3 separate regions of the Homo sapiens genome follow, and regions 1 and 2 are each linked to region 3. Evidence: promoter capture Hi-C in 16 types of primary human blood cells and fetal thymus (Javierre and others, 2016). All regions are on one chromosome and are shown on one strand. The core of a region is centred on a gene start or on the middle of the fragment in contact, and the rest is flanking DNA. Distances in the headings are between cores, read along the strand shown. Region 1 holds the start of GUCA2A (guanylate cyclase activator 2A). Region 2 has its middle 16 kb from the start of FOXJ3. Region 3 holds the start of PPIH (peptidylprolyl isomerase H).

Evidence for each region. Contacts are between HindIII fragments. The CHiCAGO score rates a contact against its expected background, and 5 or more counts as called.
Region 1: the fragment with the promoter of GUCA2A here is called in contact with the fragment with the promoter of PPIH in region 3 in 2 of 17 cell types (endothelial precursors and erythroblasts); the score reaches 6.1 in endothelial precursors.
Region 2: a contact is called between a fragment that was not itself captured here and the fragment with the promoter of PPIH in region 3, in 1 of 17 cell types (megakaryocytes). The highest score is 7.1, in megakaryocytes.

Annotation. Positions count from the first base shown.
Region 1 is chr1:42,163,304-42,166,654 of GRCh38, forward strand. It overlaps GUCA2A (guanylate cyclase activator 2A), which reads right to left and starts at 1,442. Exons shown (of 3, transcript NM_033553.3): 1 at 1,335-1,442; 2 at 100-307. The coding sequence starts at 1,409. RefSeq lists an enhancer at 1,302-2,266. The HindIII fragment of the contact is 7,781 bases long and covers 1-3,351 here.
Region 2 is chr1:42,349,016-42,352,620 of GRCh38, forward strand. No RefSeq gene overlaps it. Among named protein-coding and RNA genes, the nearest start is that of FOXJ3, 16 kb to the left of the region's middle. The HindIII fragment of the contact is 5,212 bases long and covers 1-3,605 here.
Region 3 is chr1:42,657,086-42,660,500 of GRCh38, forward strand. It overlaps PPIH (peptidylprolyl isomerase H), which reads left to right and starts at 1,338. Exons shown (of 10, transcript NM_006347.4): 1 at 1,338-1,427; 2 at 1,759-1,823; 3 at 2,143-2,166; 4 at 2,437-2,481. The coding sequence starts at 1,362. CCDC30 (coiled-coil domain containing 30) reads left to right here. Exons shown (of 21, transcript NM_001395517.1): 21 at 1-105. The region is part of intron 1 of LOC124904162 (a long non-coding RNA gene); the gene reads right to left. The HindIII fragment of the contact is 5,565 bases long and covers 1-3,189 here.

The DNA.
Region 1 (3,351 bases), core at 192-2,691, 490 kb before region 3:
CCCTTCCTCCAAATCCCACCAATCAGAGCACATCTCTTCCTCAAGTGCCACCACAGTATTCCCGAACCCCACCAATCAGAGAGGAAGGAGGCTGCTCACCCAGCCTCTGAAGTATCTCCTGGGCATTGGGCTCCTTGCAGAGAGGCTTGAGTTCTTCTGGAAAGTTCGGGTTGCTACAGAGGATGGGAACCACAGGTTCACCAGGGATGGGTGCAAAGTTCCTGAGTTTCCCAACCCTGGGCTCCTGGGGCTCCTGGAGGTCTTTGAGCTTCTTCACTGACTCCAGAGAAAAGGAGAAATTTCCATCCTGGAAGAGAGAAGCCCAGAGCATGAGGCCAGGCTGCAGCCTGCTTCCTGGCTGTGCCCCCCGTGCTGGCCCCGGTCCAGCCCAGTGGTGCTCACAGGCAGTGTTCGTGGCATATGGGAGCCAGGCGATCCACAGTGGGGCACTGTGAGGGGCAGAGTTCAGGCCCCACGTCCTGGCTTGGCTCCGTGATGCTGGACACTCTGGAACCCGCAAATTCTGCATGTTGTATGGGGAATGGAGAAAATGGGTGTGAAGCTCCAGGAACACCATAGGTGCCTAATGAGTAGGAGCCAGTGTGCTGATTTTTAGGGAGAGGCAAAGGACCAGCACCCAGGCATCGTAGTTCCACGTGGCCAAGCCCAGGCTGTCTTTCCCCTGCCTGAGAGCGGTGCGGCTGATTACTGGGCCCCCAGCTCCAGCCTGCAGCCTGGTTTTGGTTTGAGAAGCAATAAAAGGCCTCCCGGAATCTGGCTTTGATAGAGATCAGGGCCCCCGCTAGGTGCCAGCTTGGCCTGTCGCCAGCATTGGCACTGGTAGGCATACCCATCTGTCAGGACCTCCAGGGTGTCCATGTGGTTCCTGGGACCCACTGAGGAGTAAGGTCTGGATTTAAATCCAGCTCCTGCACTTCCCACAGCCATGTGCCCATGGCCTGTTACAGAACCTTTGTGAGGCTCAGTTTTCCCCTCTGTAAAATGGGACTAATGATCCCTTTCTTCCAGGTTGATAGTGGAGCCACAGTGAGGGGCTGGGGAAGGAGCCGGCACATAGGACACTCAGTAAATTGGCCAACTCCCCGCCTTCCCCATATGGTTATTCCTCTTCCCTCCACTGGGTTTCTTTCTCCTCCAAAGTTGAAGGGAAAGGTGTGTGTGTGGCTGGACTGAGCAGGAGCTCCTCGAAGAAGGCCAAGCCTGGGACACACACCCTCAATCCAGCCCCAAAGAGGAGGTACTCTCTCAGGGGACCAGACCTGGGCACTAGGGGCAGGGAGCCAGCTGGGCCGGGGTAGGGACACAGGACTCACCTGCACGGTGACCCCTCCTGCCAAGGCGGCCCAGGCCCCAAGGAGGCACAGTGCGGAGAGCAGGAAGGCATTCATGGCAGCAGTGCCCGAGAGAGGGGTGGCTGTTCTGGATGCCAGGGGGAAGCGGCGGGACTTTTAAAGAGGGCAGGTTACTGAGTAACCTGGAAGCCTCTGTCAGTCTCATCTGCTCACCTGTCAGGCCTTATCAGATAAGGCTCGAGACAGCCCTAGGAGATAAGAGCCAGGCAGGGGGGGCCCCGGCCCCTCCCTGAGCACCTACTTTGACCCACAGCCGGGCTGGGTCCTGCATTCATTCACCAACAAGGCACATTCACTCACGACTGCCCTGTGCTGCTGTGTGGGGCCGGCAGACCCTGCCCTTGAGGAGGGGGGCCCAGCCCGACAGTGAAACGCAGGGCGATTAGGGTGGGGTGATCCTAGGATGAGGTGACGGGGCTGCACTGGGGGCTGAGCTCTGGAGAATGGGTGGAAGTTTTCCCAGAGAAGGGACTGAGGACAGAAGGCCATTTCATGCCAAAGGGACAGCCAGGAGGTGAGACGGGCCTGGAATATTCAGGGAAATGTGAGAAATTCCACGGGGGAGGCTGCAGGGCAAGTCAGGGTCTGGGTTTGATTGCCGCGACCTCAAGGAAGCCCTCCGCACAGCCTGGGTTCCGTTCCACCTACTGCCCAGTTGTGAGGCGTGTGAACTTGGGCCAATGCTTTCCCCTCTCTGAGTCTCGTTGTCCCTTGTGTCCCCTGTGGGAACCAAAAATAATACCTACCTCATGGGGTAGGTGTGTGGTAGGCATTACTGTTTGGAGAATCAAGTGAGGTTTTAAAAACATTTAGCTCAATGCCTGGCACACAGAAGGTGCTCAGCAGAGGTCCATTCCCATATTATTAGCAGCCACAGCAGCTCCTGGTCCTCCCTGGCCCCTCTGGTGACCTCCTGCCTGTCTGAGTCACAGGCTGTCCCCATCCTGTGCTGGTCCCCATCCTGTCCTGCCTGCCCTGCAGCCTCAGGGTGTCCTCGAATGAGCTCCTCCCCAATCCGCCCGCCCCCCTTGCCCCTGCAGATACAGTCCCCTTTCCGCGGATCTCACTGGGGAATTGCTTGGGTGTGCCCGCGCCCCTATAGACTCTGACCCCATTCAGACTGCGCCCTCAGGGCAGCGTGCATTCACTGTGTGCTGTTGTGAGCAGGAATCCCCAGGACACAGGAGAAAGGGTAGCCCTGGGATTGTCATCTTTCTACTCAGCCAACCTGGCCCGATGCCAGGACAGCCCTAGGGCGGGAGGTTGGGCAGGAATTCCTGGGTGGGGAGAGTCAACACTGAAGAGGGAATTGGAGAGAGCAGGGCCTGACCAGGAGGGAACTGCAGGGACAAGGCCCTCAGGGAGGGGCAGGTAGCTCCTGGCCCAGCTCCCAGGGCAGTCCTCACAGCTGCACTGGATTTCCCACCCCTTTCTGGTGAGTGTGTGTGTGTGTGTGTGTGTGTGTGTGTTAAGGGGGGGTGTGTCTGCGGAGATGTGTATGTCTGTGTATGCCAAGGTGTCTGTATATACCCTGATGGGTGTGTGTAGCCAAGGTGTGTTTGTATGTGTGCTTGTGCTGAAGGTGTGTGTGTGCTGAGGCATGTGTGTACACTGAGGAGTGTATGTGTATATATGCTGAGGTGTATGTGTGTGTATGCTGAGGGGTATATGTGTGTCCGTGTACACCAAGGTATCTGTGTCTGTGCAAGGAGGTGTGCATATATACATCGAGGTGTGTGTGTGTCAGTGTGTATATACACAGGCGCGTGTGTGTACACCGAGGTGTGTGTGTTTGCTGGGATGTGTGTCTGCTGGGGTGTCTGCTGGGGTGTGTGTATGTGCACTGAGGTATGTGTGTGTGTATGCTCATGTGTGTATATGCACTGAGATATGTGTGTGTATGTGCACTGAGGTGTGTGTGTGTATGCTGAGCTGAGTGCATCTGCTGTGTTGTGCGTGTGTGTGCCGAGGTGTGTGT
Region 2 (3,605 bases), core at 910-3,409, 310 kb before region 3:
ATTCTTTTGAATTTTGAGACATTGCACTATCTTGACTATCCTCCTATGTCTGTTTCTTTCTTTCTTTCTTTCTTTCTTTCTTTCTTTCTTTCTTTCTTTCTTTTCTTTCTTTTTTTTTTTTTTAAGATGTCTTGCTCTGTCACCCAGGCTGCAGTGCAGTGGCACCATCTCGGCTCACTGCAAACTCCACCTTCTGGGTTCAAGTGATACTCCTGCCTCAGCGTCCTGAGTAGGTGGGATTACAGGCGCATGCCACCACACCCGGCTACTTTTGTATTTTTAGTAGAGATGGGGTTTCGCCATGTTGGTCAGGCTGGTCTCGAACTCCTGACCTCAGGTGATCCGCCCACCTCTGCCTCCCAAAGTGCTGGGATTACAGGCATGAACCACTGTGTCCGGCCCTGTCCACTTCTTTATTGCCTCCTTTTCCTTCTCCCGTCTCCTAAATGCAGGTGTCTCTCAAAGCTCCACCCTTTGTATCTGCTCTTTCTCTAAACTGCACTGCCCAGTACCATAGCCACTAGCCACATGATAGCTATTGAGCCCATGAAATTATTTATAGACATGCTGAACTGAGATGTGCTGTAAGTGTAAAATGCATATCAGATTGTAAAGATTTTGTGTAAAAATGTAAAATATCTAATAATTTTATATTACATGTTGAAAAAACAATTTGGATATGTTTAGTACAATAAAATACATAATTAAAATTTAATTTCACTTGTTTCTTTTTTTAGATTTTTAATATGGTTGCTGAAAATTTTAAATTGCATGTGTAGCTTGCATTCACAGCTTGTGTTATATTTCCATTTGACAGCATTGATCTAAATGTTTTTCCTAAAAACATCTCACCCATGCTCTAGGTGTCAAATATCCCCTTTATGAAATGATTTTAAGGTTCCAAATCCCAGCCTGTTTTCTGATATTCAAACCCACATTTCCACTGTCCTGCTGGCCTTTCACAGACAGGCACTAGCTCTTCAGCTCAACATGAGCAAAGCTATGACCTTTCCTTCCAAACCTGTTTTTATCCTGGTTGGCTTTATTAATCTTTTGTGTTAGTTCTTATTGCTGTTGTAACAACTTACCACAAACTTAATGGCTTAAAATAACATAAATGTATTATTTTACAGCTCTGGAGGTCAGCAGCCTGAAATAGGTTCCACTGGGCTAAAAGCAAGGTTTTGCAAAAGCTGCATTCTTCTGGAGGTTCTAGGAGACAATCTATTTCCTTGATTTATTCAACTTCTAGGAGCTGCCAGCATTCTTTGGCTCATAGCCCACTTCCATCTTCAAAGCCAGCAATGGTCGAGTCTCTCTCATGTCACATCACTCTGACACTCACTCTCCTGCCTCCCTCTTTTATTTCTAAGGACCATTGTGATTGCATTGGGCCAATACAGACAATACAGGATAATCTCTCCATCTCAAGATCAGCTGATTAGCAACCTTAAACTTCATCTTCAATCTTAATTCTCCCTTTCCATGTAAATTAATATATTCACAGGTTCCAAGGATTAGGGGATGGACATCTCACATGAAAGGGCTGGACAGAAAGGGAGAATCTGTGCGCAAGTCCAGCAAGAAAAGAAGTGATCATCAGAACACATCAGATGGGATAGCTCTCATTGCTTTTAAAGTGGATTGCTGAGACTAATAGAGATCAGTTAAAGGGGCTGGCTGCGATAGACACCAATGGTCTAACCTCCCACTTAGTTCACTGCAAAATCTACCTTCTCCAAAACTCCATTCCTGATTACTCCTCTCCCCAAGTTACACTTTCCCTCCATGATATGTGATAACCTTTGTATTTCCTCGGACATCTGTCTTACTCTGCTTTGTATTTTGATGAGATATTTAAGCACTTGATCTTACTTAACCTGTCTACTAGTTTGGGAAATATTTTGTGAATAGAAACTGCTTGATTCACCTTTGTGTTTAGCCATGATGCCTAACATGGTACTTAATATATAGTAGTTTCTCCATAACTATTTCTTGAATTTAGTTGAATAGAAACAAATCATGTTGGCATATAGTGGGTATGTTGCCACAATCACTAATTTCCCTAAACAGTGGACACTTTCTAGTTGACTTCCACTTAACTGATACTATTTCTACTATCTTAAAAGAACCATCAGTGTGAAGCCTTATAGATAATGGGCTGTTGTGCACTTGAGTTTCATGCTCATCTGGAGTCATTTGTATTTTATTTAATAACCTATTGACATCATGTGTAGTTGATATTCTAACTAATTTATTTAATATAGTTATATAGACCAATGTACTATAAATGTCAAAAGGATGAGAGTTGTTTCTGTAAAGACTGTGTTGATTATCCTAGAAATGCAAGGAAGTGCAGCATCCTAAAATCTATTGATGTAGTATACCACTCTAACAGATTAAGAGAGGAAAAACTATGACCTTTTCAATAAATACAGAAAAGGCATCAACATTTAACACTCATTCATGGTTTTAAAAAATCTTTAGAACTGGAATTAAAAGTCTAGCTATGGTCCTTATATAGAGATAATATGATTGATTACATACAAAGCCCCAAAATAATCTATAAAATAGAATCTTTTTTTTTTTTTTTTTGAGATGGAGTCTTGCTCTGTCACCCAGCCTGGAGTGCAGTGGCGCGATCTCGGCTCACTGTAACCTCCGCCTCCTGGGTTTCAAGTGATTCTCCTGCCTCAGCCTCCCGAGTAGCTGGGATTACAGGCATGCGCCACCATGCCCGGCTAATTTTTGTATTTTTAGTAGAGACAGGGTTTCACCATGTTGGTCAGGCTGGTCTTGAACTCCTCACCTCAGGTGATCCGCCCACCTCAGCCTCCCAGTGTGCTGGGATTACAGGCTTGAGCCACCACACCTGAGCTAGAATAGAATCTATTAAAGCTAGTAAGGGAGTTTAGCAAGTTTGCCATATTCAAGACCAATAAAGAAATCAATAGCCTTTCTTTTTTCTTTTCTCTTTCTTTATTTGTTTTAGAGACAGGGGTCTCACTACATTGCCCAGGCTGGAGTGCAGTGGCTACTCACAGGTGTGATCACTGTGTACTACAGCCTCAAACTCCTGAGCTGAAGTGATCCTCCTGCGTCAGCCTCCAGAGGAGCTCAGACTACAGCTATATGCCACTATGCCTGGCTCAATAGACTTTCAATATCAATAAATAATTAAAACCTGTATTAGAAATGAAGATCTCATCCACAATACTGATACAAATAAAAAGATTATTAGAAATCAACCTGACAAACATTATGTAAGATCATTGTGAAGAAAATTCCAAAATTGAAGAACAAATACAAATACATACACAGATCTGAATAAATGAAGATATCCACCAGGTTCATGAGTTCAATATCATAAAGATATAAATTCTTCCTTAATTTGTCCATAAATTCAATACAATTCTAAATTAAATCCAGCTATGACTTTTTGTGGAACTAAACAGTCTGATCTTAGGATTCATTTGGAAGTAGAAAAGGACAAGATAATTTTGAAGATGCGGAACAACATAGAAAGACTGTGCCACCACATATCAACTTATTTTATTTTATTTATTTATATTTTGAGACTGAGTCTTGCTCTGTCACCCAGGCTG
Region 3 (3,415 bases), core at 88-2,587:
ATTTTTATATGTAATCCTTGCTTTCTCAGACAACAGAGCTAGAAAGATGATCATAGGAACTAGGAAATAATAACTATTTTATTAAATGCATGCTGTTATATTGAATGAGCCTTGCCCAAGGTCCCCTTCTTTCACTAAATTCATTGCATCTATTATTTATTGAATACCTACTATATGCTATTCAGTAGGCGACATTGCAGCTACAGCTGCGAATAGGACCAGGAGAGTCTCTACTTTCATGGAGTTTATATGCTATCAGGGAGGAAGATTATGTGTGTGTGGCAGGAAATGAGGTGTAGACACATACCATACGAAGATAATGTGGAAGTGGGGGTGGCATGAAGAAAACAAACCAGTGATCTGAATGACCAAGGGCTACTTTAGATTAGGTCTAATGTTGCCTCTCAGGAGGTAACATCTGGGGTGAGCCCTGAACTACAAGGAGCATTACTTCCCACACGCATACCCCAACCAACCCCCACAATCCCCCGCCAACCCACATTAAGTTCTGGAAGGAATATTTCAGACAGAAGTAACAGCTATTACAAAGCCCTAAAGAGAGGAGGGATCTCAGTGACCTGGAGGAACAGACAGGTCAGAGCACAGTAACTAAGGGCAAGTGGTACAAGATGAGGTCAGGTACGTGATAGCCAGATAAATGCACTGTAGGGCTTCGTATGCACGGAATTGGATTTTATTCTAAATATGGGAAGCCAGGAGTTATTTTTAAAATAAATAGGAAGCACAAGAGTTATTTTAAAAATAAAAAATAAAAAACTCTAGTTGCTTTATGGGAAATGAATTGGAAATGACAAAACTGGTAGCTTTTGTGGCAGAACAAACATTATCTATTGTCCTGACTTAGAGGAAGGGATATTTACTTAGCAAGCCTGTACGTGCCAAGCTGTTCTAAACGCTGAGGATGAACAAACCAGAGTTCCTGCCTTCACGGTGTTCACACTAGCGGGCAGAAGACAGACAGCACGTGTGGCGGTGCAGAGGGCTTGGCTGCAAGAGCCGATAAGGAGGACCCTGGCGACTGCCTAGTCCAAAAGTCCTAGCTAGAGCAAGATCAACTTGTACTGCCCTTAGTACAGCCACGTGAGTGGGGTGACCATTGACCTTAACCAAAAAGATGTCAAGGCTTTCCTCCTCCTCACTCCCGCGTCCCCAGTGCCAGGCAGAGTCTCTCAGCTAGACCCTAGCAGTCTCAGCACACACCGCACGGGGCGACAGCTTCCGGGGGCGGAGCCTGGTCTCGCTCCACGTCTACCGCGCCTGCTCCCCGGACGAAATCCGCGGACCGGGCTTTAGGTTCGCCGGAATCCCACGCTCCCGACTTCTGCTTCCGGGTCGGAGCCATGGCGGTGGCAAATTCAAGTCCTGTTAACCCCGTGGTGTTCTTTGATGTCAGTATTGGCGGTCAGGTGAGATCCAGGAGGCTGCCCACACCTGCGCCGAAGGGAAACTGCTCGGGGCTAGGCAGGCAGAACTCACCCAGAGAGAGCGGACTCGGGAAGCCAGCCAGAAAGTGAAATTGCACCCGAACCTACCGACCTGCCGGGCGGGGGGAAAGGAGGAGGAGGAGTCTCCCCAATCCTAGCGCCCCGCTTCTGGAGGAACTGGGCGGTTAGACTAGGGAGGCGGAGGTGGGAGATACCGAGCGGCAGGGTGGTGGGTCAGCCCATCATGCCCCCTGCTCCGTGAAGCCCTCATGGTCTTGGACTGGGCCTTCTGACACTCTCCCGCTGATTGCAGGAAGTTGGCCGCATGAAGATCGAGCTCTTTGCAGACGTTGTGCCTAAGACGGCCGAGAACTTTAGGTAAGGACGTGCTCCAGCTCCGCTGGATTAGCTGAGGCAGAAGTCGGGCTCCAGTCAGCCGCCTGAAATAGCCTGTCTACCTCTGTCCGTCCGCTCACTGCTCTTGAGACCTGATTCCTCCATGCATTGCTCTGTCTGGTTGCCGTTTGGATTGTTCCCGTGTTAATTTACGTTGTTAGTCTGTGTGACTGCGTGTCTGGACGTCTGGCTGGCCGATTGGTGGACTTGCTGGCTCCAGTGTTTATTCTTTCCCGTATTTAGAGGCGCTCACGACTGTGACATCATAGTGATTGAATCATTCATTTTTTGTCCCTTTCAGGCAGTTCTGCACCGGAGAATTCAGGTCAGTTTCAGATGTGTTTGACTTCTTTGCCTGCTCCAGAGGGGTGTTCTGGGGCTGCAGTGAGGGTATCGGTGAACCACCTGCTGGCCTTGAATGATTGCTGGTGACAGTGATAGAAGGTAATGCCCCAAGGGTCTGTCCCTAGTTTATTTGCCTTCTTTATGTCTGTCAACCATCTTTAGGAGAGTCCTTTTGGCTCCAGTGCATGGTAAACTGGAAAGGCCTTGTGCTACCTGCTGTCACTCCAAGTCTCTTTCTTTTCGGTTATAGGAAAGATGGGGTTCCAATAGGATACAAAGGAAGCACCTTCCACAGGTAAGGCTCTTGGCAAGCCATCCTGGAGTCTTTCAGAAATATTTCCTGGGGGATTAGGCTCTTTAGAGGAAAATAAAACCAGAGGGTAATTCTTACATTTCTTGAGAAGAAATGTTTTTGTGGACTCAACAACTGAAGATTTATTAAATGTTCTAACTCTACTTACACTCCCCCACTTCTTAGGTCTTTAAAACAGAAACTACTCATCTTTACAATATCTTGTCTTTTTCATGCACTTGTTTGTGCGAATGCAGATTTTTTAAAAAGTACACTTGTAATCCTAAAGTGCATATAATATATCCTGCTGGTTGATATTTATAACTAATTCCTAAAATGATCATATATGATTGTCCAAGGATAATCATATTTCCTGGGGAGTGGAGTATGTCAACACTTAGTCTCATTTCAATATAGAATCTTTCTCATGGCCTCACTGTGGTTAGTAACAATGTTAGCACATAATTATATCACAGCTTTAGAGCTTTGGGTCTCTAATCCCCAGTAAGACTCCTGTGAAGTGGTATGGGTGATCTGCATTCTACAGAGGAGGAAACTGAGGATAAGAAAGGTTAAGGACCCTCCCTAGGGGTAATAGCTAACAGTTGTTAAGCCCTTACATGTTTAGCAGTACATTTCACATAAATTCTCTGTAGTTCTTTCCCCCAAATTTACATCAAACCCTTGCTCTGCCTTTTGCTTTGGCAAGTAAGCTTTCAGCCCCTTCTTCTTATTACTGTTCAGGTACCAGATCATGCACTTGATCAACTCTAACATGCCCTAATTTATAACGAAAATCCTTTTTTATGGTTAATTATCCTTTCAGCTTAATCATTCAGGAAAAGAATAATCTTCAGGTTTTTTTTGTTTTGTTTTGTTTTTTTGAGACAGAGTCCCACTCTGTCGCCCAGGCTAAAGTGCAGTGGCATGATCTTGG